Regions from separate parts of the Homo sapiens genome. Here all the other regions are linked to region 1. Evidence: promoter capture Hi-C in 16 types of primary human blood cells and fetal thymus (Javierre and others, 2016). All regions are on one chromosome and are shown on one strand. Each heading gives the region's core, a stretch centred on a gene start or on the middle of the fragment in contact. The rest is flanking DNA. Distances are from core to core; before and after follow the strand shown. Region 1 holds the start of BRPF1 (bromodomain and PHD finger containing 1). Region 2 has its middle 63 kb from the start of LHFPL4. Region 3 overlaps EMC3 (ER membrane protein complex subunit 3). Region 4 holds the start of PRRT3 (proline rich transmembrane protein 3). Region 5 overlaps LHFPL4 (LHFPL tetraspan subfamily member 4). Region 6 overlaps IL17RE (interleukin 17 receptor E). Region 7 holds the start of CIDEC (cell death inducing DFFA like effector c).

Region 1 (4,347 bases), core at 1,277-3,776:
GACTAAAAATTACTGTTCACTGGACTGATTTAGCAACACAGGGCCACTGACGACATCAGCAAAAGCAGTTTCAATGGCCTGTGTGAAGCCAAACTGGAGTGGGTTGAGGGTGAATAAAAGGTGGAAAAAAAAGTGGGTGGAGAGAAAGCAAATGTAGAAAACTGTTCAAGATGTGGAGAGGGAGATACTGTGATAGTTGGAAAGAGATGCTGGGGATCAAAAAAGAAGCCTCCCTGCTGCACCCCCATGCCCTCTCTCCTGGTCATGGCTTATCTCTTCTTGTCTGTGCCTGACCCAGTTCGTCCCATTCCGAGACTATGTTGACCGGTCGGGGAACCAGGTGTTGAGCATGGCCCGACTGGCCAAGGATGTGCTGGCCGAGATCCCGGAGCAGCTGCTGTCCTATATGCGCACCAGAGACATCCAGCCTCGGCCCCCACCCCCTGCCAACCCCAGCCCGATCCCAGCTCCAGAGCAGCCCTGAGGATTCCACATATCCAATGCCTCACAGTCTGCAAGCCTGCTCACCCACTGCTTCTGCTTTAAGCCAGAGGCACCTGGAACCCTGGACTTCACTGGGAGGGCCAACTTGGAGGATCAGTGCTGGCTGACAAGCCCTCCGCCTCCTTGCCTGCAGAGGGCCTGGCACTATCACCACCTCTCTGCCTTCATGCCAATAATAAAGCTGATCTTTATTCCACCTCTGTCTCATGCATGTTGGCGAAGGAAGACTATGGGACCCAACGACTGGGGCCACATCAAGAGGGAGGGAACCAGGATGGCTTCAGTTAGATTCATCCCCATCCTAACACGTTCATCCAATCACTTCTTCATACATTCTTCAAAGACCTTAATAAGTGAAACTTTGTATGTTTTTCCTCAGGAGAGAGGCCCATAGTTGTTTTTTTTCTTTTTTCCATAAAATCCGAATCCTACACACGACCCATAGTTCTCAGCAGATTCTCAAACGAATTCCTGACCACTAAAGGAGATAACTTAGTATAACTCTGCTTTGATCCATCTATTCTGAATTATTTTAATAAGGATAATAACAGCTAATATTTTCTTTGAACATTCACTACATGTCAAACCGTGTGCTAGGTGATTTACAAGCATCATCTCATTTAATTCTCACAACAACTCTGAGAACAGGTACTATATATTATTCCCACTTTACCCATAAGGAAACTGAGGCTCTGAGAAGATGAGTCATTTAAGATAATTCATCAGTTTGACTTCAGATCCCAAGATCTTAATCAGCAAACCTCTTCCTGGCATGTCGATTTTATTGGGATGGTTTTTAGAAAACATACATTTTATTGGGTCAAATGCAAAGTTTGCATTAAGAAGATAGAAGCTTTCAGATGCTTTGGGCTTTGTCCCAGAACCCTGGAAGACCTTTCACGCTCCTCTTTGATGACAAAACTGGAGAAGTATTGTTTAAGGATGTCTCCCCCTGCCATGCAAGTTCTCTGAAACCCTCAAGAACTAACAACAGAGTTTTCGAGCTCTGTTTTACAAATAAGGAACTTAAAGAACTGAACTTGCCCACGTTCACATTGCTAGGAGGTGACCCACTCACATTAAATCAGCTGTTTTGGCACCATGTTCCAATCAGCAACCCGCAGCACATCCCTGCCAACCCACAGATTTCCCACCGCTTTACCAGACAAGCCCTTTCACACCCACCGGCCCCAAACCAGCCCCTTCTCTCAGACCCATACCTTTTCTCTAGCACCTCTCCTTTACTTTTCCCAAGTTTCTTCCCTTTCCTTCAGTCACGCCCCGTTATCCCTAATCGGTCCTGCCCTTTCCCCACAGCTCCGCCCCTGCCTTACCAAGCCCCGCCTGCTCCCTTCAGCGTCGCATCGCTTTTTCCAACTTTGTTCTTTATTTCTAGTCCAGCTCCACTTTCCAGGCTCATCCAAAGCTCCGCCCTTTCTCTCGCGAGTACTCTTCTTCTGTTTAGCCCCACTTTTTACCCCGCTATTCTAACAGGCCCCCGCTGTGCGGTAGCCCCGCCCCCTCCCACAAGCCCCGCCCCACAGACCGGTCTAGTCTCCAGCCCCGCCCCGGTCCTACCCATAACTACCGGTCCCTTAGGCTCCAGCCCGCATCCCTCTTGCTCCCGGCCCTGCCCCCAGCCCCGCCCCGTGACTCTGGCCCCGCCTCACCGCCTTCCTCCGAGACCAAGGCCAGGTCCCTCCCGCAGCCGCGGCGCCAGCAGGAGGCAGGGAGCGGATAGGGAGGAGGCAGAGGGGGAGGGGAGAAGGGCGGGCTCCTCACGCCCAGCCCCGCGCTCACCGTCCGTGGTTGCAGATTCGCCACAAACCGCCCGACGACCCCAGATCCCGAGTACGGTGACTTCAGTCTCCAGAAACTCCACTCTAAGATGGGAGAGCTAGAGAAGCCCTGTGGGGTGTCCAGGGTCCTTTCTGAATCCCGGAGCACGGTCTTTCGAGCCTCAGCGGGCGGGCGGGGATCCGTGGCGAAAGTGCAGCTCAGTAGCGCCGCGGCGCCACGTTTACCCTGCGCAGACGCCGTCGCCGCCGCTGCTGCCGCCGCCGCTGCCACAGCCTTTGCCGCCACGGTCTCCGCCGCCGCTGTCCTCGCGCTGCCTCTGGGAGCCTCCATTGTTCCAGCAGCGCCCGGTCCCGAGACCGGGCATCTTGGGGGCTCGCGAAACGGGCGGCGGCCGACGGAGTTGAGACCCCAGGGCGCCGGCGGGACCAGGAGCGGCAGGGGTCAGCTCAGGAATCCCGGGGAGCCGGGACCAAAGCGTGGGGCGGCAGGGGGCCGGGGTGGCGAGGTCTACGGTCTCCGGAGTTGGGGCTCCCCCTTCCCGGCCCGACTTTCCCCGCCGACCTCCCCAAGTGGGGTCGGAGCCCCGGCGGGCGCCCCCGGCGATGAGCCCGGACTCGAGGTGGCCGGTGAGTGCGGGCCTGGGACCAGGGCGGGAGTGGCCGGCAGGGAAGGGGTAGGCTACGTTCGTGGGACGCGCACTGAGCCGCGTGGCCCGGGAACCTCTCTGGCAACTCCAGTTGGGAGAACTGACAGTGCATTGCTTCCCAGCAGGCATCCTGGGGCAACAGTGTATCTTTCGGGGCTGCCCGGGCTAGTGGCAGGCGGGGAGCCTTGTTTCACTTGTTACACTTCCACAAAGGGGAAACGCCGCCGCATCCGGAGAGTGGGCTGCGGGCACTGCCGGGGCCCAGCCCTATCCCTCCGGCCCCCGCCCCTTACTTCCTCCAGCCCCCTGAGCTTCAGGGGCAGATGCAGCCGCCATTCTCCTTGGGCCCTCCCCACGGGCTTTCTGGTCTAAGTTCTCGTCTCCCTCGCCTGTGCCTCTGCTGCCGGGTTCCAAGGGGAGATTGCTGATTCGCTGTGCTACTTTGGGAACCATTCACCCGGGACCCAGCTTGGAAAGAGGAGAGCTTGTTTGTGCTTCGGTTGGTTTATGTTTAAAGACACAGCCGCAGGTAGGAAATAGAAGAGTTGCAGTTGGACGTGTAGCGTTACTGATGTGAAAATCAGGAGCCGTTGACAGTGGAGCTGGAGCAGCCCACTTGCCTGGTTAAGGCACAGGTGGAGAGGCCAAGAGGGGTTATTTTGTCAGGGAGCTCATGATAGCCCTGCCTGGCTGGGATGGTGCCAAGCCCCTAGCTGAATGGTTGAACTCAACTAGGCCGAGAGAAATTGGGGCAGTCTCTGACCAAGCTGGGCTTCCTGAGGCCTGGTGCCATCTGCTGTCTACACTCACCCAGGAATGTTGGGGAGCGGGGAGGGAGGGCCCCTGCGGACCAGCATGGAGCTGAGCATGCCTAGATTGTCGCGTTCGTGTTTGTACCCTTAGGGCCTGGCACTTGGTAGTCACTCAGTTGATGTGTGAGTGGGTGAACAGCTCAAATGTAATACAAGCTGCTGTCACTGACTAAATGACCTCAGTTTTCACTTTGTTTCACAGTACATCTCCTACCCAGTACCAGGGCCAGGCTCCCCATAAAGACCTCAAAAGTAAATGAATTCTTTCTGTGATCCAGTGATTTCTGCAGGAGTCCAACGCTAAAGCATTAGCCACCCACCCATTCAGCTTTCTACATGGCCTTCATCCCATCTGAGCTCTCAGTCTGGTGATCCCCTCATTCAGCTATTCGTTCAACAGGTCATTCATTCGTTCGCCAAAAACTGAATGTCCAGTGCATGCTAGGTACTGGGGATACAGAGGTGGATAGGCTCTGGTACCCTTGCTACACAGCTCCCAGTCCAGGGGGGAGACAACTTTCAGTATGTCAAGTGCTGTGGTAGAGGTGAGAATGGAATGCTGTGGAAACAGCTCCCCATGGGAGA
Region 2 (4,347 bases), core at 1,220-3,719, 240 kb before region 1:
TATAATAGGAGTTCCCAAAAAAGTAAAAGTAAGGTAACAGAACAAATATCAAAAGCTATAATTTGGCAAGGTGCAGTGGCTCATACCCTTAATACCAGCACTTTGGAAGGCCAAGGCAGATATGGATCACTTGAGATCAGGAGTTGAAGACCAGCCTGGCCAAGATGGTTGAACCCCATCTCTACCAAAAAATACAAAAATTACCTAGGCATGGTGGTGTGCACCTGTAGTCCCAGACACTCGGGAGGCTGAAGTGGGAGAATCTATTGAACCCAGGAGGCGGAGGTTGCAGTGAGCCAAGTTTGCACCACTGCAGCCTGGGTGACAGAGCAAGACCCTGTCTCAAAATAAAAATAAAAGCTATAATTTAAGGAAAGTTTCCTGAAATATTTTAAACTACAAAGTGAAAGAGCATATTGCATACCTAGTAAATTCAATCCAGAATGATAAATAATGAGATATTACAGTAAAATTGTTAGATTTTAAAAACAAAAAAATCTTAGGCAAATACACACACATATTTACACACACACAATCATGTCAATAGGAATACATTCTAGAAAGTACATCTTTAGGTGATTTCATTGCTATATGAATATCATGGAGTGCACTTACACAAATCTAGATGGTGTAGCCTACCTCACACCTAGGCTATACGGCATAGCCTATTGCTTCTAGGCTCAAACCTGTACAGCATGTTACTGTCCTGAATACTGTAGGCAATTGTAACACAATATAAGTATTTGTGTTTCTAAACATATCAAAACATGGAAGAGGTACAGTAAAAATACCGCATTATAATCTTATGGGACCACTATGCAGTCCATCATGGAGGGAAGCATGCAGTTCATGACATGTGTGGGTGTGTGTGTGTGTGTATTTGTTACTTATAAGGCAAAGAAAATTAGGCTGTATCAGACTTTTTGACAGCAACACTTAAATGGCAAAAGAGGCCAGGTGCAGTGGCTCACACCTGTAATCCCAGCACTTTGGGAGGATGAGGCGGGTGGATCACGAGGTCAGGAGTTGAAGACCAGCCTGGCCAAGATGGTGAAACCCCGTCTCTACTAAAAATACAAAAATAAGTGAATGTGGAGGCGGGCGCCTGTAATTCCAGCTACTCGGGAGGCTGAGGCAGGAGAATCGCTTGAACTTGTAGGGCGGAGTTTGCAGTGAGCCAAGATCACGCTACTGCACTCCAGCCTGGGCGACAGAGTGAGATTGCGTCTCAAAACAAAAAAAAAGGCAAAAGCTAATGGGATAATTTAAGATAAGGAAAGAGACAAGCCAAGAATTTTGTACGAACTGAACTTACTTTCCAGGGTAGTAGCCACAAATTGTCATCATTATCATGCAAAAACTTTGGGAATTTTATTTTCATGAATTCTTCCTTAGGGATCTATTGGAAACTGAGCTTCAAGGCCGGGCACGGTGGCTCACGCCTGTAATCCCAGCACTTTGGGAGGCCGAGGTGGGTGGATCACGAGGTCAGGAGTTCAAGACCAGCCTGGCCAAGATGGTGAAACCCTATCTCTACCAAACATACAAAAATTACTGAGCATGGAGGCAGGTGCCTGTAATTCCAGCTACTCGGGAGGCTGAGGCAGAGAATTTCTTGAACCTGGGAGACGGAGGTTGCCGTGAGGTGAGATCAGGCCACTACACTCCAGCCTGGGCGACAGAGCGAGACTCCATCTCAACAAAAAAAAAAAAAAAAAAAAAAAAACTGAGCTTCAAACAACAAAAAGCCTGATAGTATTACTTATATATACTTACATGCAGAATAGACTGAATGAGAGATATAAGGAGAGTATATACTACAAAATGGTTTACGTGACCTGCACAATATAGATAGAGTACAACTTTAGATAAATAAGCAGGAGAGAATGTGTTAAATAATCATACTGGCAGTAGTCTATCTGAGTGCTTTAACGTGTGATAAATAAATACAGCGTCCTTCAGAACCAATATTTCCCAGTGTTGGGGGAAAGGAGGTATAGCTGTTAAAGAAGTTTAGCCAAAACCCTAAGTATTAATATTAACTCATGAGGCATTTTACCATAGGTACAGAGAGATCCCATGTGTCTATCTATGTATCATCTATCGTGTATGTATCTTTGCCCTGTCAACTGGAAAGGCATAGAAACAGGGCTTCTTAGAGAAATGGCTGATTCCAGGTTTAGGAGAAGAAATGTCTAAGATTAGCCTGGATCATCTTGTCATACCAGTCATCAAGGATACTATCAAAGATAATTAGGGTTAGCTTTAAAGAGAATTGTGTTGCAACTTAAAGAGAATTCTCCTGACCAAAGATGGAACATTTGAGCATTAATTATGATAATACATTACAACATAATCAAATCGAACATATTTAAATCCATGAGTTCATAGTGGTACCAAAATAAAATTGTTCATTCTGAAGGATGTTAAGGAACTAACTTTGTATTTTTGAAAAATATATATATTTATATATTTTGAAAGGCCGCAGCATTTATCTTGCCTTTCCTGTTTGAGTTGTACCACTGAGTAACTACATAGCAAATGATGGTAAGTTTCTCTTTATAGAAGTATTTCCACAAGTAAATAAAGAGTGATAGAATTGGAACATCACTATTTTGCAGCTCCTAATGAATTAAAGATGTAAGCATTGAAGATTAACAGCAACTAGCAACACAAAAACAAAAACAACTCGATGTTAAGTGTCTCTTGACCAAAAAAAAAAAAGTTATTAAAATGTGAGAACATACACTCCTGAATCTGGTTAAGTATCTAGATCCAATTATCAATTTGCTGAAAATACAGAGGAGAACAGAAGAACTTACTGAACTATCCCACAAGAATGAAGCCAGCAAAATTCCAGTGGCAGAACACTACGTAACAAATGGTCTGGTTTCTTCAGCAGTAAATTGCAAAGGAGAAAAAGAGATTAAGTGGGGAAAGACATGAAGAAAAAAGAAGTGGCAACCCAGCACAGTGGCATGCACCTGTAGTGCCAGCTTCTTGGGAGGCTGAGGCCAGCCTGCCTGGGCAACATAGCAAGACCTCACCTCTAAAAAAAAAAAAATCTGGCCAGGCACGGTGGCTCACGTCTGTAATCCAACACTTTGGGAGGCTGATGGGGGTGGATCACTTGAGGTCAGGAGTTAGAGACCTGCCTGGCTAACGTGGTAAAAACCTGACTCTACTAAAAGAAAAAAAATAGCTGGGTGTGGTAGTGCATCCCTGTAATCCCAGCTACTTAGGAGGCTGAGGCGGGAGAATCACTGGAACCTGGGAGGTGGAGGTTGCAGTGAGCTGAGATCCTGCCACTGCACTCCATCCTAGGAGAAAGAGCAAGGCTCCATCTCAAAAAAAAAAAAACTAAAAAATTAAGGTTAAGCTGTATTGTTTAAAGATGCTCACTTGGGTGAAAAAATAAAAGTTGGGGAATGATTACAGTAAAAAGATAACGGTTATTCTTAGGAGGGAGGGAAGAGATGGAGTTTATAGGAAACATGAAGGGCTCTGGAGTAGCTGGCAGAGTCCCATCTCCTTGGTAGCAGTTAGAAGGGTATGTTATAATTAAGCTGTACATTTGTTTTATTCTCTGTGTGTTATGTTTAAGAAAACAAACAGAATCTGACCTGGCCACTATAAACTGGCGAACAGCTCTGCTACTAAGAGGCCGGAGGTAATTTGTTGAGCTCATGTCTGATTTATTTCTATATGCCTAGAGCCTAGCAGTACCTGACCAGGGTAAGTTATTCAATAAATGTTTTGTGGGGTGAGTACATGAGTTTGAAGAAGCCTCCAACCCATTCCCACACCCGTTTTGGCACCTCACGGAGCTTTCCAGTGCCGCTGGATGGATCTGTGTGGGCACCCCACACACTTAAGCTCTGCCTAAGTGGACTGGAAGGGAGTTTCAAACTAGGGCTCTGTTTGGAAGTGCGTCTGGTAAACTCCACCAACCTCACCCTCTGTCCCCCATCCCTTTCAACAAGAGCGTGTTCTGTGTCCTCTGGCCTCCTGACACTCTACTCCTACAAAGCAGTTCTCTTCTCCCTGTCCGTCTTTCTCTCCCAAGCTCTCTGCTGTGTATTCAGGACATCTTCGCTTTTCCTTGGCAGAAAACACTACTTCCCTCCATCTAATCTCTTGGCCCTTGCTGAATTGTGGCCTTTCCTTAGGACATTGCCTACCTTGTAGCCCATTGAAGTGGAGGCTGCTGGATCTTTTATACCTTGTTGCACAGAGGTTCTCCCTACGTTTGTCCAGACACATACATCTTGTCCCTCAGATTAAAAACTCCTCCTCTACCAATGCTCCCACCATCAGTGATTTTATCCTTTTTTTTTTTTTTTTTTT
Region 3 (4,347 bases), core at 728-3,227, 240 kb after region 1:
ATTTTTAGTACAGACGGGGTTTCACAGTGTTAGCCAGAATGGTCTCGATCTCCTGATCTCATCATCTGCCCACCTCGGCCTCCCAAAGTGCTGGGATTACAGTCGTGAGCCACTGCGCCCGGCCTGTTTTCGTTTTCTTGAGACAGGGTCTTACTCTGTTGCCCAGGCTGGTCTCAAACTCATGGGCTCAAGTGATCCTCCCGCCTTGGCTTCCCAAAGTGTGGTTTGTGTTTTTATTAAACAAAAGAAAGTTCTTACCAGGATGCATCTAATGTGAGTAGCTCGATTCCTTGCTGTAACATAGGCTTAAAACGGAGGGTCAGTGGAAATGGGACCTTGGCTGCAGAGAAGAAAAAGTTCACAATCACTCTGAGCTGTTTTATTTTTAGAATAAGTGTGACTCTTTCTCAGAGGAGGTGGGAACTCTGTGCCACATAGCTTTTGGAAAACGACTTCCACAAGGAAATCTGTGGCAATTTCTGAAGAAAAGACAGTCAAAATGCCACTCTGCTCTAGTTTCCCTGAATAATATCTGCCTCTAGCTTACTGAGGAAGCAGGGACTCAAACTGAGCTGTGACCTGAAATTTGGAAAAAACTTGCAGCAAACTGTCAAACTCTAAGTGGAATATATAAGCATAGAATTATGTTAATAAGAAACCAAATTGATTAAAAGCGAATCAACTTACAAACAAACAGAAAACTCACCCTAACATCTAGCAAATGAAGTCAAAATAGAAATACGCTTCCCTTTATCCTGCTCAACGAGAATACCGTATTAGTTTTGGAAGTAAGCTAGCAAGTCACTTGCTTGAATCTAATCTGGCTAAAAAGCATCCACGTCATGAACTTAGGATCATTTTTGGGCAAAAGCCGTAAAAGTCATCACATATTAAATTTTTTGTTCAAGGACTATTATCAGTTTACAAAAGAAAACACAGGACCTGTGATATTAGTGTCTCACTAGCACTTGAATTTCTCTGGGTAACATGAAGTCGGCTGGGTCTGTAACTTACTTGTGACAAAGCCTGAGAATGTCATGTTGATCCATCCACCAATAAGAATCATAGGGAGGACATTTGTTACATTCCCTTTCATCATGTCTGTCAACATAGTAGGATCTAAGACAAAAGCACAAACAAGAAACCACTAAGTTTTACCTCTGTTGCCAGGGACTTTCTCCTGATTTTCTGTAAACTGTTTTTTTTTGAGACGGAGTCCCGCTCTGTCGCCCAGGCTGGAGTGCAGTGGTGCGATCTCAGCTCACTGCAAGCTCCGCCTCCCAGGTTCACACCATTCTCCTGCCTCAGCCTCCCGAGTAGATGGGACTACAGGTGCCTGCCACCACGCCTGGCTAATTTTTTGTATTTTTAGTAGAGACGGGGTTTCACCGTGTCAGCCAGGATGGTCTTGATCTCCTGAACTCGTGATCCGCCTGCTTCGGCCTCCCAAAGTGCTGGGATTACAGGCGGGAGCCACCGCACCCAGCGTTTTTTTTTTTTTTTTTTTTTGAGATGGAGTCTCACTCTATCGCCCAGGCTGGAGTGCAGTGGCATGATCTCAGCTCACTGCAACCTCCGCCTCCCAGGTTCAAGTGATTCTCTTGCCTCAGCCTCCTAAGTAGCTGGGATTACAGGCACACACTACAATGCCCAGCTAATTTTTGTATTTTCAGTAGAGACGGGGTTTCACCATGTCGGCCAGGCTGGTCTTGAACTCGTGACTGACCTCAAGTGATCTGCCTGCCTCGGTCTCCCAAAGTGCTGGGATTACAGGCGTCAGCCACCGTACCCAGTCTCAATATTTTTAATGTCTGCATAGGATTCCATGGTGTGGTCACACCAATCACTTTTGAGTAGACCTATCGATTGTTTCCATTGTTTTTGCCAATAAACGATAAATGATGCTGCCGACAATTATCTTGCACATACATCTGCATGTTTATGTGTTTCCGTAAGAGAATTTCTTAGAATTTCTAGGTCCAAGGATTTGTACATTTAAAATTGATAGATATTGTCAGACTGTCAGCAAGGCCCCACCTCTTGCCACTCCCGCCAATGGTGAGGGAGCCTAACTTCCTCGACCTTGACAATAGTGGATCCTGACAATCTTTTCAATCTTTTGACAGCTTACTGGGCTAAAAAAAAAAAAAAGAGATATCTTGGCCAGGCACGGTGGCTCACACCTGTAATCCCAGCACTTTGGGAGGCCAAGGCGGGCGGATCACGAGGTCAGGAGATGGAGACCATCCTGGCTAACACAATGAAACCCCGTCTCTATTAAAAATACAAAAAATTAGCCGGGCATGGTGGCAGGTGCCTGTAATCTCAGCTACTCTGGAGGCTGAGGCAGGAGAATCGCGTGAACCCGGGAGGCGGAGCCTGCAGTGAGCCGAGATCGCACCACTGCACTCCAGCCTGGGTGAGAGAGCGAGACTCCTTTCTGAAGAAAAAAAAAAAAAAAAAAAAAGATATCTTGTTTTAATTGATATTCCATGGATTATTAGTGAGGTCAAGTAACTTTTCATATATTTAATGGTCTTTTGTTTCTTGTAAATTTTCTTAAAAATTTGTTAAAAAATTAACTCCATACAACCTTAGTCACTCTCAAAAAAAATTAATTATAATACCTTCCGTATGGGTTTAAAATAGCTGGTTATCTCACCTAAAGAAGTGAATAGTACTAAAATGAGAGGAGTCAACACAGAACAACAAATTACTTTGTTTTACTTTTAGTTATTTTTATTTTTATTTTTCGGAGATGGAGTCTTGCTCTGTCGCCCAGGCTGGAGTGCAGTGACGTGACCTCAGCTCACTGCAACCTCCACCTCCCAGGTTCAAGCAATTTCCTGCCTCAGCCTCCGGGGTAGCTGGGACTACAGGCACCCACCACCACGCTAGGCTAATTTTTGTATTTTTAGTAGAGACGGGGTTTCATCATGTAAACCAGGCTGGTTTGAACTCCTGACCTCAGGCAATCAATCCACCTGACTCAGCCTCCCAAAATGCAAGGATTATAGGCGTGAGCCACCACACCTGGCCTGTTTTACTTTTAACATGCTATATTTTTCACATGACTGGTATCAGTGGAAGTAGAAAATGTTAGAGCCAAAACTGTAGGGTAGACCAAACAATCACGTCTAACAACAAAGTCAACAAAATGGCACATCTTGGAAGTACTGCACTCTTCCTCATTTAGGCAGAAGCTGGGCAGCCATCTATTGGAAGGGGATCCAGGCACTGGGTGACAGCCAGGCTGGAATGCTTTACCAACTGTGCTCCCTAGAATCCTGGGTCCTGAGAACAGCAATAAGGAGAGACCCAGGGACAATAGCTCTGGCCTCCCCACTCCATCAGCTGAGAACTATTTTTTTTAATCCACTTTATACATTGGGGTTCTCAGAAAATCTAACTGAAAAAGAGAATTCCACTTCCATAGATCCCTGTATCAGATGATTTCTAAGGTCTAAGATTACTATCTTTTGCAATTTAACATTTAAATAAAATGACACCCTCCCTGCCTACCCCACCCCACTCAAATACCCATGTTAAAAATCTTCCTTAAAGATGAGTGAAGGGAACAAACATACCAGTCATAGGAGAAGGTGGCACTACCTTCCGTTTAGTTTTTTTGAAAAATCCATCCTCTGGGTTGTTGAAATAATATTTTCGTGTCAAGAAAGACTAGTAAAAAAAAAAAAAAGTGTTTTAAGTCTAAGAACTATGACACAGCAAACTGTTAAATTACTCCCCAGTGGCTTAGTCAGAAGGCCTTTAGGATATGCTGTTCCGCTCAGAGCTGTCAGCCTACTTGGCAGGCGACCTGACACTTTAGCTGAGTCACATTTAAAAACAATTTCCTAAGAAGGGTGAGGTCACCATGAGAGCAAACACCACCAGGCCACAGCTTAATTACTAAGTTGCCAACCTTTAGCTTTCCCCAGAGCCCCCTTATAAAACATTCAGATATCTACTGCCCAACAGTGAATCGTGGAGCTTTTTAATAAAAGATAAATGAGTACCTGTTTGGGAATGTATTTTCCATTTTCCCTGAGGACTCTGCTTCGAATTAGGACTTGACTGAAAAATACAACCAACACAATGAGATTTTAAAAAGTGAAACACTAGAAGAAAATGGGAGAGTCAAGTAGAAGACCTATTTAAACACAAGAGAGGGCCTATTTGGCAACAGCTCTGTGTGGAAACTTCCCAAAATACAAGTATCTTTAAAACCAACGTAAACTTATTTAACCTAACTACTAGGTTTTCAGAAAAGTATTTTTCAAAAGTGACTGTGTTTCTGAACACATAAATATTTCAGAGTTAGGTACATTTGGGACATTACACTCA
Region 4 (4,347 bases), core at 996-3,495, 220 kb after region 1:
GGATCCTGCTGGGTGAAGTGGGGACCTTGAGCTGCCTCCTGCAAGTGTTCCTCAAACCCACCCTGTCCTTCCAGCACTGGCCTCTTGACAGTACCTGAGTGGGAAACAAGGGTGTGGGGTGGGCCCTGGTGGTCTGAGGGAGAAGTGGGTGGGACCCTGCTCTTAGTTTTGGCCTTCAGACCCTCATCTCTAGGTGGCCACTGTCCCTCTTGGCCTTCATGCTGCAGGGAGGGAGGAACTGTGGCTACCCTGAGTTGACGTCTGGGAGTTGTGGGGATGAAAGTGAGATGAGGGTGGCCCACTGGGTGGGGAGCCACTGCTTCTTGCTGCAGAAGCTCTTGTGAGTCCAGAGGTCCTGTCCAGCCGTGGGAGCTTGGTCCTTGAGCCATCTGGAGGTCATCAGTTACTGGGAGTCGTTCTCTCTGAGCTCCTTGTGCTGCTTTGGGCCCGTACAGGGCTGGGCCAAGGGGAGAGGCTACAGGCTTCTCAGGCATCTCTTCAGCAGGGGCGTGGCGGACATCAGAGTTCCTGTGACTGTCAGCTCTGGGGTTCTCCGGGAACACGTCAAAGGCCTGGGGCTCTGAGCCCACAGAGCCCTTGGGGTGGGCTCCAGGGATCATAGGGATTTCGGAGTTTTCAAGTGGCCTGGGAAAGCCCCTCCCCAGGGCAGGGCCAGTCCCCAGGAGTGGCAGCAGCAACAGCAGAAGGCCACATACACAGCCCCATGGGCTGGAGGCCATGGTCTACTCCGATGCCTGGGCCTAAAGCCCCCACCTTCCAGTCCTCACTGGATGAGCCTAAAAAAAAAACAGGGCATGGAATGACATGTGAGGGCTGGGGGCCCCCATGCCTTCCTCAAGGGGCTGACAGGAAAGAAAAGCAACGCAAGGCAGCAGCTTCTCTGCTTTTAAAATTGCTGGACGTGGCACTTGCCCTGCTTTAAAACCTTCAGTGGCTCCCCATTTCCCTCAAGAAAGAACATAAGCTCCTCTCCTGGCCTTCCAAGACCCTGGCCACCACAAGCTGTTCATCTGTCCTCCAACACCCACTGGACTGTGTGGCTCCCATGCCTTTTGCTTCTGCTGTTCTGTCAGCAGGGAATGCTCTCTCCCTTCCCCTTCACTTACTGAAATCCTGTTCTTTTTGAGACGGAGTCTTGCTCTGTCGCTCAGGCTGGAGTGCAGTGGCGTGATCTCGGCTCACTGCAACCTCCACCTCCCAGGTTCAAGTGATTCTCCTGCCTCAGCCTCCCGAGTAGCTGGGGTTACAGACATGTGCCACCACACCTGGCTAATTTTTATATTTTTAATAGAGATGGGGTTTTGCCATGTTGGCAAGGCTAGTCTTGAACTCCTGACCTCAGGTAATCTGCCCATCTTGGCCTCCTAAAGTGCTGGGATTACAGGCATGAGCCACTGCACCCTGCCTGAAATGTTATTCCTAAAGGCCCACTTCAAAAATGAGAGACGTGGAGAGGGAGAGGAATATGCACCGGCCTTTGGCGAGGGGCCTGAGTTTGAATCCCAGTGTCTTCATTTCCTGGGGGAGTCATTTCACCTCTCTGCATCATAGTTTTCCCATCAGTAAAATGGGGATAATAAGCATGCCTAACTCAAGGCATGAGACAAATAACCAAACAGGTATGGGCGAGGTTCATACCTGATGCTTGACAAGCGTTACACATTCCTCTTCCCGCCTTCCTTCCCTCATCTTCCTGGGCACTTGTCACTCTGGTCTGATTCTATAATAATCTCCTGCCTCTTATTTCAAACCTGCAGCCTCCAGTATATACCTGGCCCCACGTGGATATCCCCTAAAAGTTCCTGTTCTCGAGAGCCTGTCAGTGGGCCAGGGAGGCAGGAAGGGGCCCCACCACCAGGAGAGGTTTCATGGAGGGTGCGAGAGCTGAAGCCTGGGTGTGTTTGGCGGCAGAGGCCCTGCTCTTTTCCTCTCTGGGGAGCAGCTGTCCCCAAAGCTTCCTGGCTGTTAACCCATGGTGGCTCACAGACACCTTAAGAAGCCACTGAAAACCCCTGGTGCTCTCCCGGGGAAAAGACCCAGGCTCACCGAAAGTTGTGAACAATTTCAAGGGGTTCAAAGACCTTTGAGTCCCATCCTCCAAACTCGAGTTTAGACTCTGTCTTAAAGCCTTGTTAGTTCATTTCTCAAACATTCACGGAGCCCCATGGGCTGCTCCTGGTCTAGGCTAGGTGCTGGGGGCCCAGAGACAGGGCTTTGCTCCAGGGTTGGGAGTAGGGGTGCGCTGAGACGCCCCTAACACAGGTACTGGCTAAAAACAGTGCTCCTGTGTTTAGTTCTTTCCCAGTGAGGCTCCTGCGCTGAGCTTAGCAACACGTCACTCCGCCCTCCCAATACAAGGTGTGGGAACAGCCATTTCACAGGGGGAAGAAACGGGGGTTCAGAGAGGGTGAGCAACTCCCCCAAGGTCACACAGCTGAGTGGACACAATCGGGGTTGTGAAACCCTCGGAGGCTCATCTTCCACAGGAGGTCCAAAAAGCTTTGCCGAGAAAACGGCTGAATGGGGCCTCCAAAGATAAACATGCCATCTGCCTACCACTGCCAACCCAAGAGATGTGGGCACCTGCGGACAAGGCGGGGGCTTGCCCAGCCCTGGGCTCCCACTCTGCTGGAGAGGCTGTGGGGGGTGGCGGATCTCTCTGCCGCAGGGACTGGGGAGAGGCCGGCCTGGGGGCAGGGCGAGGCCGTTGCGGGGCAGCCTCGGAGCTGGTCCATCTCGGGTTACCTCTCCTCCTCCTCCTCCTCCTCCTCCGTCTCCTCTCTCCCTGGCTCCGCGCCTTCCCGCAGTGTCCTGGATGGGGGTGGGCGCCGTGCAGGCCTGGTCGCCTGCGCCCGCGACGGGGGCAGCAGGCCACGCTCCCCGTCGGGGTCCCGCCATCGCCCCCTCCCTGGGCCAGCTCCTCACCTGCGCGCCGCAGCCCCCGTGTTCACCTTGCGCGCGTCCCTGCAGCCGATCGCCGCGCCGCATCCTCCGAGATGCTCAGACTCGGCTAACAGAGCCCGGCGCTGCCGATCGCGAGCCCGCCCACAGGAGCGCAGCCCTGCTTAACTCTTTCCCCTTAGGGGTGGACTCTTCTGTCAACCCTGACTTCCCCTCGCTCAGGGATTGTCAGGGCTCAGAGTGGAACCGAGGTCATCTCTGAGGGATGTGGAAATGTCTTCTGCAGCATCCCTGAAAACGGGGCAGCTAGCCTCTGCTTGCATACCTCATGGGACGGGGAGCTCACTTCCTTTCTATATCCCTACATCCTTTTAGGTAAATCCTACCTACAGCTTGGTATGTATCCTTCAGATTCTTCTCAATGTACAGTTACATGTACATCTTAAATAGAAATGACATCATACTGTATACTTTTTTTTTTTTTTTTTGAGACAGTCTTGCTCTGTCGCCCAGGCTGGAGTGCAGTGGCGTGATCTCGGCTCACTGCAACCTCCGCCTCCCAGGTTCAAGTGGTTCTCCTGCCTCAGCCTCCCTAGTAACCATGCCTGGCTAATTTTTATATTTTTAGTGGAGACAGGGTTTCACCATGTTGGCCAGGGTGGTCTCGAACTCCTGACCTCAGGTGATCAGCCCGCCTCGGACCCCCAAAGTGTTGGGATTACAGGCGTCAGCCACCGTGCCCAGCCACTGTACACATTTCTGTAATTTGTCTTTTTCACTTTCCAATATATTCTGGCACATTTTTCATGTAAATATCTATAGATCTATATCATTTCTTGTATCCACTGTTGAGAATTCCAGCATATGGTCAGCTAGTTATTGTTCTTTATCCTGTCCCCTGTAATTGGACATAGGTTGTTTCTAGCCTTTTGCTCGCAGGGATAATGGAGCAGGGGCCATTCCTTGCTTAACACATCACTGTGCACGTACACTAGTGCACCTACCAGATAATTGCCTAGCCGAGGCATGGTAGTAAAATCTATGGGTCTGCATATGGGGCTGGTAGACACTGTCAAAATGTTCTTGGTCTTTCTTTGAACACCTCTTGATATACTAAACATCCATTATTAGGCTCAATTCCTTAAGGGAAAGCCACACAGGAAATATATGTGGTTATCAAAAATGAGATAGGGCTGGGTGCAGTAGCTCACACCTGTAATCCCAGCACTTTGGGAGGCCTAGAGAGGAGGATCATTTTGAGCCCAGGAGTTCAAGACCAGCATGGGCAAGATGGTGAGACTTTTTTAAATTAAAAAACAAACAAAAAAACAAAAAAACTAGCTGGGCGTGGTGGTACATGCCTGTAGTCCTACCTACTCCAGAGGCTGAGGCCAGAGAATCATTTGAGCCCAAGAGGTCAAGATT
Region 5 (4,347 bases), core at 757-3,256, 210 kb before region 1:
AGGGTTTTTTGTTTGTTTGTTTGTTTGCTTTTTTTTTTTGGCATATCCTGCATGGTGTTCTCTGAGCTTCTTGGATGTATGGTTTGGTGTCTAACAATAATTTGGGGACATTTTCAGTCATTATTATTCCAAAAGTTCTTCTGTTCCTTTCTTTTTTCTCTTTCTGTTATTCTAAATATGTAAATGTTACAACTTTTGTAGCCATCATATAGTTCTTGGATATTCAAGTTTGTTTGTTAGTTTGTTTTAGTCTTTTTCCCTTTACTTTTTGTTTTTAGAGGTTTCTACTGACATATCTTTGAATTCAGAGATTCTTTCCTCAGCCATGGCCAGTCTACTAAAAGCCCGTCAAAGGCATTCTTCCTTTCTGTTACAGTGTTTTTTATCTCTAGCATTTATTTTTGGTCCTCTCTTAGTATTTCCATCTCTCTGCTTACGTTGCCCATCTGTTCTTGCATGCTAATTTATTTGTCAGAGCCATTGCAATATTAATTATAGTTATATGTGTAAATTCCTGGTCTGATAATTCCAACATGCCTGCCATAATTGAGCCGGGTTCACATATTTGCTCTGTCTCTTCAAACTGTGTTTTTGCCTTTTAGTATCCCTTGTAATTTTTTTCTTGATAGCTGGAAATAATGTACTGGGTAAAAGAAACTGCTGTAAGTAGGCTTTTAGTGATGTGGTGGTAAGATGTGGGAAGAGGGGAAGCATTCTATAGTCCTACAAAGAGGTCTCCGTCTTTTAGTGAGCCTTTGCCCTGGACTGTTAATTTCACAAATGCTTCTAAGTTGTTGCTGTTTTTTTCTTGCCCTCCTTAGGTGGGACAGCATGGCTAGAGGCAGATGGAGTTTCCTTCCCCCAAGATCAGTTAGCCTCTCTCTGATAATCCCAGCAGGTTAGGCTCTAGTCACCTAGTTTCTCCCAAGGACAGGCCTGGCATACATCAGAATTGTTCCTTTTTCCCTGCTCTTGCCAGAACCATGAGGGGATTTTTCTTCAATATTCACCGTAAGAACTTGGTAGAGCTTCAGGAAGTAAAACTTACAAAAGTGTGGGAGCCCCCCTAATGACTGGGTCCCCTGGGAGTTTTTAATGTCTCACACTTGTCCACACAGCCTCCAGCAATTTGTCAATTACAATTCAGTTTTCCCTTGCCTGGGCATTGGTTCCCATAAAGGTTTCTGCTCATGGGTTCCTTCTGCTCCTGTAAGTTGTGATTCTCTGCACTCACCTGTCTGTCGCTCCAATTTTGGGGGCAGCAGTTTGCCCTGTGACCTTACGTCTCTCATGGATCTAGCAAGAGTGTTTATTTTTCAGTTTGTTTGGCTTTTTACTTGCTGTTAGGATGGAGTAGCAGCTTCCAAGCTTCTTACATCCCTGACCAGAAACCAGAAGTCCACTCATCTGTGTTTTTTATAAAAAGGATATGCATACTATGAAATGCATTGCAACAATGAGAAAGAATGGGTAGCACTTTAAGGACTGAAAGAGCAAGATTTCTTTGACACAACGTCATCTGAAAAAAAGCAATCATAATTTTAAAAAAAATCCAACGTGCTTATACGTTTGAAAAAATGGGAAAAAATGGGAAACATGCCAGACACTGTTTTAACTGTTTTATGTGTATTAATTCATTGTTACCTCATTTTTATATGTTATGAAACAGGCACAGAAAGGTTAAATGATGAGTCTGACCTAGCCTTCCTGGGGCCTGAGTCCATGCTCTTAACTACCTCTCTTTTTCTGACATATTGAGCAGGTAGAAAGACCATACGTAGGCATGATCCCTTTAGTTTTAAAAAAAGTAGGGGATGGTATATACATACAATGAAATATATTGAACCTTAAAAAGGAAAGAAATTCTGACACATGATACAACATGGAGGAATCCTGAAGACACTTTGCTAGGTATATAAATAAGCCAGTCATGAAAGGACAAACACTGTATGATTCCATTTATATGAGCTACCTAGAGTAATCAAATTCACAGAGACAGAAGGTGAAATGGTAGCTGCCAGGGCTCGGGGGAGGGAGGAATGCGGAGTTAGTGTTTAATGGGCACAAAGTTTCAGTTTTGCAAGATTAAAAGAGTTCTGGAGATGGATGGTGGTAATGACTGAGCAATAATGTGAATGTACTTGATGCTAGAGAATTGTGCACCAAAAGACAGTAAAAATGATAAATTTTATGTCATGTGTATTTTACCACAATAAGAAAATGCGGGAAAAAAGAATGTCCCCGTACAAATCTGACAATAGTTTGAATAACTGTCTTTATTTTGCTCACAATTGTAGTCGGCTGTGGTCTAACATCCCTCATATCATCTCCCTCCTTCAAGCATCTCTTAAAATGATGGTGAATGTAATGAGTTTAATTGCGTTCCCTCAAAAAGATATGTTCAAGTCCTAATCCCTGGTACCTGTGAATGTGATCTCATTTGGAAACAGGGTACCTGCAGATATAATTAAGACACAAGACAAAATAAGGTCATTAGGGTGGGCTCTAAGTCCAATCACTGGTGTCCTTATAGGAAGAGAAGAGAAACACACACACACGTGAAGACCAGAGATTGGAGTGATGCTGCTGTAAGTCAAGAACACAAAGGAAGGCTGACAGCCAAAAGAAGGGAGATGAGATCAGGGAAGCTTCCCTCCCAGAGTCTGCAGGGGGCATGAGGCCCTGCCCACACTTTGATATTGGACTTCTTAGCCTCCAGAACAAGAATAAATTTTTGTTGTTTTAAGAAAAAAAGAAAAAAAAAGGTTAAAATGGTAAATTTCATGTACATGTATTTCACTGAAAGGAAGGAAGGAAGAGAAGGAGGGAGGGAAGGAGACAGAAGGAAGGAAAGGAAAGGGAAGGGAGAAAGAAGTAAGCAGGGGTACACAGAAGATGACATGATATAGTTTCCTTATGGATATATATGTAAATGTGCAGAAAAAGATCAGGGAAGATAGAAATGAAGTTTATAAGAGTGGTGGCCTCTGGGTGGGGCTTGGGTGGGGACTTTAGTCTTTTTGTAATATTTCAGCTTTTTACAGAGTGGGTATATTCATATATTACTTGTGAAATTTAAAAACATAATTTTGACCAGGCATCGTGGCTCATGCCTGTAATCCCAACACTTTGGGAGGCCAAGGCAGGTGGACCACTTGAGCTCAGGAGTTTGAGACTAGCCTGGGCAACATGGCAAAACTCTGACACTACTAAAAAAAATAATAATAATACAAAAAGTTAGTGGGCATCGTGGTGCATGCCTGTAGTCTCACTTATTTGGGAGTGCTGAGGTGGGACGATTGCTTGAGCCCAGGAGTCAAAATCAGCCTGGGCAACATGGTGAAACCCCATCTCTACAAAAAATTAGTCAGGCATGGTACAAGCGCCTGTAGTCTCAGCTATTTGGAAGGCTGAGGTGGGAGGATTGCTTGAGGTCAGAAGGCAGAGGTTGCAGTGAGCCAAGATCATGCCACTGCACTGCAGCCTGGGCAACAGAGCCAGATGTTGTCTGAAAAACAAAAACAAAACCCATATACAGTAGACTAGTGTGGCGGAATAATTTTTTTAAAAACCCAGAAAACCAATAATTGTACAAATTAATTTTTCAAATACAAACACACACACACACACACACACACACACACACACACACACAGAGGCATACCCTGGGGATATTGCGAGTTTGGTTCCAGACCACCGTAATAAAACAAATATTGCAATAAAGCAAGTCACACAAATTATTTGGTTTCCCAATGCATATAAAGTCATGTTTACACTATATACTAATAGTGTGCAATAGCATATGTCTAAAAAAAACCCAATGTGTATACCTTAGTTTTAAAATACTTTATTGCTAAATTATCATCTGAGCCAGCCTTCAGCAAGTTGCAATGAAGGTTTGAGTAGCTGTAGCAATTTCTGAAAATAAGATAACAACGAAGTTTGCCACATCGATTGACTTTTCTTTCACAAAAGTTTACTCAGTAGCATATGATGCTATTTGATAGCATTTTATCTACAGAACTTCTTTCAACATTGGAATCAATCCTCTTAAATGCTACTCCTGCTTTATCAACTAAGTTTATGTAATATTTTAAATCTTTTGTGGGCATTTCAACAGTGCTCACAGCATCTTCACCAGGAGTAGATTCCATCTCAAGAAACCACTGTCTGCTCATCCATAAGAAGCAACTCCTCATCCATTCAAGTCTGATCATGAGATTGCAGCAATTCAGTCCCATCTTCAGGCTCCACTTCTAATGCTAGTTCTCTTTCTATTTTCGCCACACCTTCAGTTACTTCCTCCACTGAAGTATTCAGCTCCTCAAAGTCATCCATGAGGGCTGG
Region 6 (3,096 bases), core at 1-2,500, 170 kb after region 1:
TGCCAGGTAGGGACACCTGCCTGGCACAGCCATAAAGCTCCCCACTCCCCTGCCTGCCCTGTGCTACCTCCGCAGTCCCTGTGCTCTGGTGGCAGCTTTGATGTGTCCTCTACCTAGTCTCAAAGGGGTAGCCAAGGTCCTTTGTGCTGAGGGCCTGGACAGGGTGGAGCTGGGAAGATAAGAGCCAGAAGGTATGGGCTATTAGCTATGGGGCTCAGAATTTGCTGATTTGAAGCAAAGACCCCAGGAATGTGCCTTATGGGAGTCTCTCCTAATAATAGCTCTTTCCTTTCTTTTCCCTACTGGGCCCTGTGCCTCAGGATGACAGTTTCACTGGTGAGTCGCATTTCCTGCCCCATTGCTCCTCCCCACGCCCACTATTTTTGCAGATGCCTAGCAAGCCCTCCATTCTAATTTTCAGTTCCCAACCCGGGAAGTAGCACAATATCAAGGAAAAATTTGGAATCATGACAAGCCTGGGTTCACATTGCAGTTCTGCCAGACTCCCGTGTGGCCTCAGACTGTGCACCTAACCCCTCCAACTGACCCTCAGTTTCTGAGGGGTAGTAGCATAGTAGAAATGATTGTACACTAAAGGCAGTGTTGCTTCTGATCTGTAGAGAGGATTAGATGAGAAACATGAGTAAATCTCCAGGTTCTCCATATATGTTGGCTCCTCCCCTTAACTGATCCCTCACTTCTATCAGTAATACAACAATAATCCTTCCTATTTTATGGTATGTTCTACTTCACAAGACATTTTCCCATACACTACAATTTTGATTTTTATAACAGACCCGCTTTATGAATGAGGAATCTGATCCTTAGACAGGTCCTGTAACCCCCAAAGTCATACTTCCAGGATGTGACAGAGCTTGGCCTCAAATCCAGCTTGTTGGAGGTAGGAGGGACCTTCTTAGACCCTATCATTTGCTTTCCCTTCCATCTTTCCCAGGAAGTTCTGCCTATATCCCTTGCCGCACCTGGTGGGCCCTCTTCTCCACAAAGCCTTGGTGTGTGCGAGTCTGGCACTGTTCCCGCTGTTTGTGCCAGCATCTGCTGTCAGGTGGCTCAGGTATGAGAAACAGCCCCTTGGGCCATTCTCAGTGAAGAGAACATTTTGAGGGACCACCTAGGCTGAGCAAGTGGGACTTACTAGAACAGATATTTGTCTTGTTTTAACCTCAACTGGGACTTGGATTATCCTAAAATAGCACGCTATGACTGATATTCACAAATACAATTGTACAATTTTATGAAGGTTTTTTTTCAGCTGAGATTCTTGGAATTAAAAGCTATGGATTTATTGTTATTACCATCTATTTGTAGAGCAGGATCTTCTTTCTTACTCTATATTTTAATTGCTCAGCTCAGTGCCTGGTACATACTAAATGCCCTTACATTGCTTAAGAATTGGCAGTTTCTAGGCCAGGCGCGGTGGCTCACGCCTGTAATCCCAACACTTTGGGAGGCTGAAGCAGCCTGATCACCTGAGGTCAGGAATTCGAGACCAGTCTGGACAACATTGTGAAACCCCTGTCTCCACTAAAAATACAAAAAATTAGCAGGGCCTGGTGGCAGGCACCTGTAATCCCAGCTGCTCAGGAGGCTGAGGCAGGAAAATCACTTGAACCCAGGAGGTGGAGGTTGCAGTGAGCCGACATCATGCCATTGCACTCCAGCCTGGGCGACAAGAGCAAAACTCCATCTCCAAAAAAAGAATTGGCAGTTTCTGGGCCAGGTATGATGGTTCACACCTGTAATCCCAGCACTCTGGGAGGCCAAGGTGGGTGGATCGCTTGAGTCCTGGAGTTTGAGACCAGCCTGGCCAACATGGCCAAACCCCATCTCTACAAAAAAATACAAAAATTAGCTGGATGTGGTAGTGCACACCTGAAGTCCCAGCTACTTGGGAAGCTGAGGTGGGAGGATCACCTGAATTCAGGAGGTGGAGGTTGCAGTGAGTTAAGATAGCGCCACTGCACTCCAGCCTGGATGACAGTGTGAGACCCTGTCTCAAAAAAAAAAAAAAAAAAAAAAAAAGAATAGGCAGTGTTTAATTTTTCTAATTGTTTGTTGTTAGAAATAATGCTACAGGGCTGGGCACAGTGGCTTATGCCGGTAATCCCAGTACTTTGGGAGGCTGAGGCGGGCAGATCACCTGAGGTCAGGAGTTTGAGACCAGCCTGGCCAACATGGTGAAACCCCGTCTCTACTAAAAATACAAAAATTAGCCAGGTGTGATGGTGCATGCCTGTAATCCCAGCTACTCAGGAGGCTGAGGTGAGAGGATTGCTTAAGCCCAAGAGTTCAAGACTGCAGTGAGCAGTGATTGTGCCACTGCACTCCAGCCTCCATGACAGAGCAAAATCCTGTCAAGAAAGGAAGGAAGGAAGGAAGGAACGAAGGAAGGAAGGAACAAAGGAAGGAATGAAGGAAAGAAAGAAAAGAGAGAGAGGCAGGGACTGGCGTGGTGGCTCACGCCTGTAATCCCAGCACTTTGGGAGGCTGAGGTGGGCAGATCTTGAGATCAGGAGATCGAGACCATCCTGGCTAACATGGTGAAACCCCGTCTCTACTAAAAGTACAAAAAATTAGCTGGGCGTGGTGGCAGGCGTCTGTAGTCCCAGCTACTCTGGGGGCTGAGGCAGGAGAATCGCTTGAAGCCAGGAGGCGGAGATTGCAGTGAGCCAAGATCGCGCCGCTGCACTCCAGCCTGCGTGACAGAGCAAGGCTCCGTCTCCAAAAAATAAAAATTAAAGAATGCTAAAATGAATATCTTTGTATATATAGCTTTTTCTCTGCTTAAGAAATTAATCTTTTCTTGATTGCTTTATAATTTTCAAGATTAAAGAAGCTTGACATCCTTACCCTCCTTGATTTAAAACGACTTACTATCAGGCCGGCTCATGCCTGTAATCCCAGCACTTTGGGAGGCCGAGGCGGGCGGATCACCTGAGGTTGGGAGTTCGAGACCAGCCTGACCAACACGCAGAAACCCCGTCTCCACTAAAGATACAAAATTAGCCGGGCATGGTGGCACATGCCTGTAATCCCAGCTACTTGGGAGGCTGAGGCAGGAGAATCACTTGAACT
Region 7 (4,347 bases), core at 1,264-3,763, 150 kb after region 1:
CCACCTGTAGTGCCCTTCTCTGATCCAGGACGAAATTTTTGCAGCCTTGAAGCCTCAGTTTCATTGCTTTCCACTCTTTAAAAGGAAAGTCTTCTTAGACCACTCCCAAAATTATTACACCTTCATCCTGCTCTTCCTAGCCAAGGGTGCCTCTGGGTCTGTTTCTGCTGTAGCCCCTCAGTCCCTGGATGCCTGGCCCTGAGGTCCTCTTCCTATTCGAAGCTCCCGGCACAGGTAGGGCTTCGCAGAGCAAGGGGCACAAGGGGTGGACATAAAACAAAAGTCCCCTTGCCAGCTGGGGACAATCACTCTTTGCTTTTAACAATTTGGGGGACTTTCCAGACCAGGCCCCACAGAGGCAGAAAGCCCCTTTCCCACTTAGCACTGCAGAAGCTCTAGTCCTAGCTACGTGGGAGGCTGAGGCAGGAGGATTCTGCTTGCCTCAGCCTCACCCACTTCGTATCCCTAGCAAAACTCTGCCAAGAGCTACCTAACCTGCTCTCCAGGAGCAAAGAAAAAAAAATCCCCAAACCCAAAACAATAACAAACTCCTTACCTCCCCCTCACAGCCTCCTGGAAATACTGCCCTGTCCCGCCCAGCCCTCCCTTCATTTATTTCCAGCCCCCATGAAGCTCCTCCCCAGCCTTCAGCCCCAGCTGGGGAAAAGAGCTTGGGGTGAGAGCTGCAAGCCAGCCTGACTTCCAGAAAAGGCCTAAAAGGAGGGGAGAAGGCATGTTTCGAAAGCTTTGGCAAAATGGATGGCCCATGACATGAGATCAAGCACAGAGGGCACAGAAAGCAGGCAGATGTGGGTTGTGGTCCCAACTCCACCCCATATCAGCTTGCTTGAGCTTAGACAGATCACTTGACTTCTGTGAGCCCGTTTCTCTTCTCTGTGTAATGACGATAATGATTCTTGTTTTATAGGGTAGTGGTGAGGATTAGTGACAATAAAAGTAAAGGGGCACAGTGGCTCATGCCTATAATCCCAGTGTTTTGGGAGGCTGAGGCGGGAGGATTGCTTGAGGACAGGGGTTGGAGGACAGCCTGGGCAATAGAGTGAGACCCTGTCTCTGAAAAAAAAAAAAAAAAAGAAAAGAAAAGAAAAAAGAAAAAAGTAGCCTGGGTGCCGTGGCTCACGCCTGTAATCCCAGCACTTTGGGAGGCCGAGGCAGGTGGATCACTTGAGGTCAGGAGTTTGAGACCAGCATGGCCAACATGGTGAAGCCCCGTCTCTACTAAAAATAGAAAAATGAGCCAGGCGTGGTGGTGTGTGCCTGTAATCCCAGCTATCTGGGAGGCTGAGGCAGGAGAATCGCTTGAGCCTGGGAGGCAGAGGTTGCGGTGAGCTTAGATCACACCACTGCACTCCATTCTGGGTGACAGAGTGAGACCCTGTCTCAAAAAAAAAAAAAAAAAAAAAAAAGTCCGGGCACGGTGGCTCACACCTCTAATCCCAGAACTTTGGGAGGCCGAGGTGGGCAGATCACAAGGTCAAGAGTTCGAGACCAGCTTGGTCAATATGGCGAAAACCCCATCTCTACTAAATATACAAAAATTAGCCGTGCGTGGTGGTGGGTGCCTGAAATCCCAGCTACTCAGGAGGCTGAGGCAGGAGAATCATTTGAACCCGGGAGGCAGAGGTTGCAGTGAGCCGAGATCACGCCACTGCACTCCAGCCTGGGTGACAGAGTGAGACTCTGTCTCAAAAAAATAAAAATAAATAAAAATAAAGGCTTTGCAAACATAAACACTCAATGGATCGAAGTGATTATTAGTATTACTGATAATTTTTTATTTTTATTTTATTATTTTTAATTTTTTTGTCTTTTTCTCAATTTGATAATGTACATATTAAATCATAGCAGAGAGTAAGACAAGCTGAAATGTGGAGTGGTTAAGAGTGTAAGATCTCTGACCCAGCAGTTCCACTTCTGTGTGTGTGCGTGTGGTGTATGTGTGTCATACAGAGCACACCTGTTGTCCCAGCTGCTCAGAAGGAGGCTGATGCAGGAGGATCACTTGAGCCCAGGAATTAAAATTTAGCCTGAGTAACATAGGGAGACCCTGTCTTTACAAAAGAAAAGAAACAAAACCAAAACCAAACAAAATTACATATATATGTGTATATATATACACACACACATATATATATACACATACATATCCAAAAGAAATGAAAAATATGTCTACACAAAAACTTGTATGTGAATATCCATAGGATTATTCGTAATAGCCAAAAGGTAGAAACACATGAATGTTCAATTTATAAATCGATTTTTTAAATGTGCCTATCCATACATGGCATATTATTTATCAAAAAGGATCCATACTACCACATGGAGGAACCTTGCAAACAGTACAGAAAGTAGACAAAGCCAGTCACAGGAATCATATACATATTGTATGATTCCACTTATATGAAATGTCTAGAATAGGCAAATCTATATAAAGACAAAGTAGGGCCGGGCGCGGTGGCTCACGCCTGTAATCTCAGCACTTTGGGAGGCTGAGGTGGGCGGATCACGAGGTCAGAAGATCGAGACCATCCTGGCTAACACGGTGAAACCCGGTCTCTACTAAAAATACAAAAAATTAGCCGGGCGTGGTGGCGGGCGCCTGTAGTCCCAGCTACTCGGGAGGCTGAGGCAGGAGAATGGCGTGAACCCGGGAGGCGGAGCTTGCAGTGAGCCGAGATCGCACCACTACACTCCAGCCTTGGGCGACAGAGCGAGACTCCGCCTCCAAAAAAAAAAAAAAAAAAAAAAAGACAAAATGGGTTAGTGGTTGCTTCGGGCTGGGAGTAGGGGATGGGAGGGGAATGGGGAGTGGCTGCTAATTAGTACAGGGTTTCTTTCAGGGTTTTCTTTTCTTTTTTTTTTTTTTCTTTTCTTTTTGAAACGGAGTCTCGCTCTGTCGCCCAGGCTGGAGTGCAGTGGCACCATCTCCGCTCACTGCAAGCTCCGCCCCCCAGGTTCCCGCCATTCTCCTGCCTCAGCCTCTAGAGCAGCTGGGACTACAGGCGCCCGCCACCACGCCCGGCTAATTTTTTGTATTTTTAGTAGAGACGGGGTTTCACCGTGTTAGCCAGGATGGTCTCGATCTCCTGACCTCATGACCCACCCGGCTGGGCATCCCAAAGTTCTAGGATTACAGGCAGGAGCCACCGCACCCAGCCTTTTCTTTTTCTTTTCTTTCTTTTTTTTTTTTTTGAGACAGAGCATTGCTCTGTCACTCAGGCTGGAGTGCAGTGGCACGATCTCGCCTCACTGCAAGCTCCGCCTCCCGGGTTCACGCCATTTTCCTGCCTCAGCCTCCCCAGTAGCTGGGACTACAGGTGCCTGCCACCACGCCTGGCTAATTTTTTTGTATTTTTAGTAGAGACGGGGTTTCACCGTGTTAGCCAGGATGGTCTTGATCTCCTGACCTCGTGATCTGCCTGCCTCAGCCTCCCAAAGTGCTGGGATTACAGGCGTGAGCCACCGCGCCCGGCCTTCTTCTTTTTTTTTTTTTTTTTTTTTTTTTTTTTTTTTTTGAGACAGAGTCTCGCTATGTCACCACCCAGGCTGGAGTGCAATGGCGCGATCTCAGCTTACAGCAACCTCTACCTCCCACAGGCGTGTGCCACCACACCTAGCTAATTTTTGTATTTTTAGTGACCTCTGCCTCCCGGGTTCAAGTGATTCTCCTGCCTCAGCCTCCCAAGTAGCTGGGATTACAGGCGCCTGCCACCACACCCGGCTATTTTTTGTATTTTTTAGTAGAGACGGGGGTTTCACCACGTTGGCCAGGCTGGTCTCGAACTCCTGACCTCAAGTGATCTGCCCGCCTCTGCCTCCCAAAGTGCTGGGATTACAGGCATGAACTACCACGCCCGGCCAGGTTTCCTTTTTTTTTTTTTTTTTTTTTACCTATTAATTACAAATTATTTCAGTGATGTTTGCACAACCCTGTAAATATACTAAAAATCATTGACTTGTACACTTGAGTGGGTGATGTGAATTCTATCTCAATAAAGCTGTGTTTTTTAAAAAAACATTTAACCTCATCTTTCTTTTAACACAGGGTTTTTCACACTTTGGTACATCAGAATCAGCTGGCGGGTTTGTTAAAATTCAGATTGCTAGGCCCCACCCCAGAATTTCTCACTTAGTAAGTCTGGGGTGGTGCCTAGGAATTTGCGTTACTAAAGGTTCCCAGATGATTCAGAAGCCATGGCTGCTCAGGGAGCCCACTTTGAGAACCAGTGGTCTAGCGCTAGCTGTGTGAGCTAAATTTTCTAAGCTTCAGTTTGATCCAACAACTGGGGATAAAAATAGCTCTACTGCATCTGGTTTCCATGCAGA

The links. Contacts are between HindIII fragments. The CHiCAGO score rates a contact against its expected background, and 5 or more counts as called.
Region 2: a fragment that was not itself captured here is called in contact with the fragment with the promoter of BRPF1 in region 1 in 1 of 17 cell types (megakaryocytes); the score reaches 7.0 in megakaryocytes.
Region 3: a contact is called between a fragment that was not itself captured here and the fragment with the promoter of BRPF1 in region 1, in 5 of 17 cell types (neutrophils, monocytes, M0 macrophages and 2 more). The highest score is 13.9, in neutrophils.
Region 4: a contact is called between a fragment that was not itself captured here and the fragment with the promoter of BRPF1 in region 1, in 3 of 17 cell types (monocytes, naive CD4 T cells and M0 macrophages). The highest score is 7.2, in monocytes.
Region 5: a fragment that was not itself captured here is called in contact with the fragment with the promoter of BRPF1 in region 1 in 1 of 17 cell types (megakaryocytes); the score reaches 5.0 in megakaryocytes.
Region 6: a contact is called between a fragment that was not itself captured here and the fragment with the promoter of BRPF1 in region 1, in 4 of 17 cell types (neutrophils, monocytes, naive B cells and 1 more). The highest score is 8.0, in neutrophils.
Region 7: a contact is called between a fragment that was not itself captured here and the fragment with the promoter of BRPF1 in region 1, in 1 of 17 cell types (neutrophils). The highest score is 8.6, in neutrophils.

Annotation. Positions count from the first base shown.
Region 1 is chr3:9,729,209-9,733,555 of GRCh38, forward strand. BRPF1 (bromodomain and PHD finger containing 1) reads left to right here and starts at 2,527. Exons shown (of 14, transcript NM_001003694.2): 1 at 2,527-2,930. It overlaps CPNE9 (copine family member 9), which reads left to right. Exons shown (of 21, transcript NM_153635.3): 21 at 299-700. The coding sequence ends at 484. RefSeq lists enhancers at 1,963-2,522, 3,083-3,642 and silencers at 1,986-2,345, 2,816-2,865, 2,876-3,005. The HindIII fragment of the contact is 5,381 bases long and covers 1,356-4,347 here.
Region 2 is chr3:9,488,799-9,493,145 of GRCh38, forward strand. No RefSeq gene overlaps it. Among named protein-coding and RNA genes, the nearest start is that of LHFPL4, 63 kb to the right of the region's middle. The HindIII fragment of the contact is 8,839 bases long and covers 1-4,347 here.
Region 3 is chr3:9,973,370-9,977,716 of GRCh38, forward strand. EMC3 (ER membrane protein complex subunit 3) reads right to left here. Exons shown (of 8, transcript NM_001394674.1): 2 at 4,020-4,077; 3 at 3,588-3,681; 4 at 1,015-1,119; 5 at 259-340. Among named protein-coding and RNA genes, the nearest start is that of EMC3, 11 kb to the right of the region's middle. RefSeq lists an enhancer at 3,060-4,259. The HindIII fragment of the contact is 7,414 bases long and covers 1-4,347 here.
Region 4 is chr3:9,949,376-9,953,722 of GRCh38, forward strand. It overlaps PRRT3 (proline rich transmembrane protein 3), which reads right to left and starts at 3,033. Exons shown (of 4, transcript NM_207351.5): 1 at 2,947-3,033; 2 at 1-797. The coding sequence starts at 740. All of the region lies in intron 3 of PRRT3-AS1 (PRRT3 antisense RNA 1), which reads left to right. RefSeq lists a silencer at 2,532-3,071. The HindIII fragment of the contact is 545 bases long and covers 1,974-2,518 here.
Region 5 is chr3:9,524,196-9,528,542 of GRCh38, forward strand. The region is part of intron 2 of LHFPL4 (LHFPL tetraspan subfamily member 4); the gene reads right to left. Among named protein-coding and RNA genes, the nearest start is that of LHFPL4, 27 kb to the right of the region's middle. The HindIII fragment of the contact is 1,280 bases long and covers 1,367-2,646 here.
Region 6 is chr3:9,903,077-9,906,172 of GRCh38, forward strand. IL17RE (interleukin 17 receptor E) reads left to right here. Exons shown (of 16, transcript NM_153480.2): 2 at 321-336; 3 at 956-1,075. Among named protein-coding and RNA genes, the nearest start is that of IL17RE, 1.8 kb to the left of the region's middle. RefSeq lists an enhancer at 1-645. The HindIII fragment of the contact is 3,209 bases long and covers 1-2,855 here.
Region 7 is chr3:9,879,668-9,884,014 of GRCh38, forward strand. CIDEC (cell death inducing DFFA like effector c) reads right to left here and starts at 586. Exons shown (of 7, transcript NM_001321142.2): 1 at 557-586. The HindIII fragment of the contact is 3,540 bases long and covers 744-4,283 here.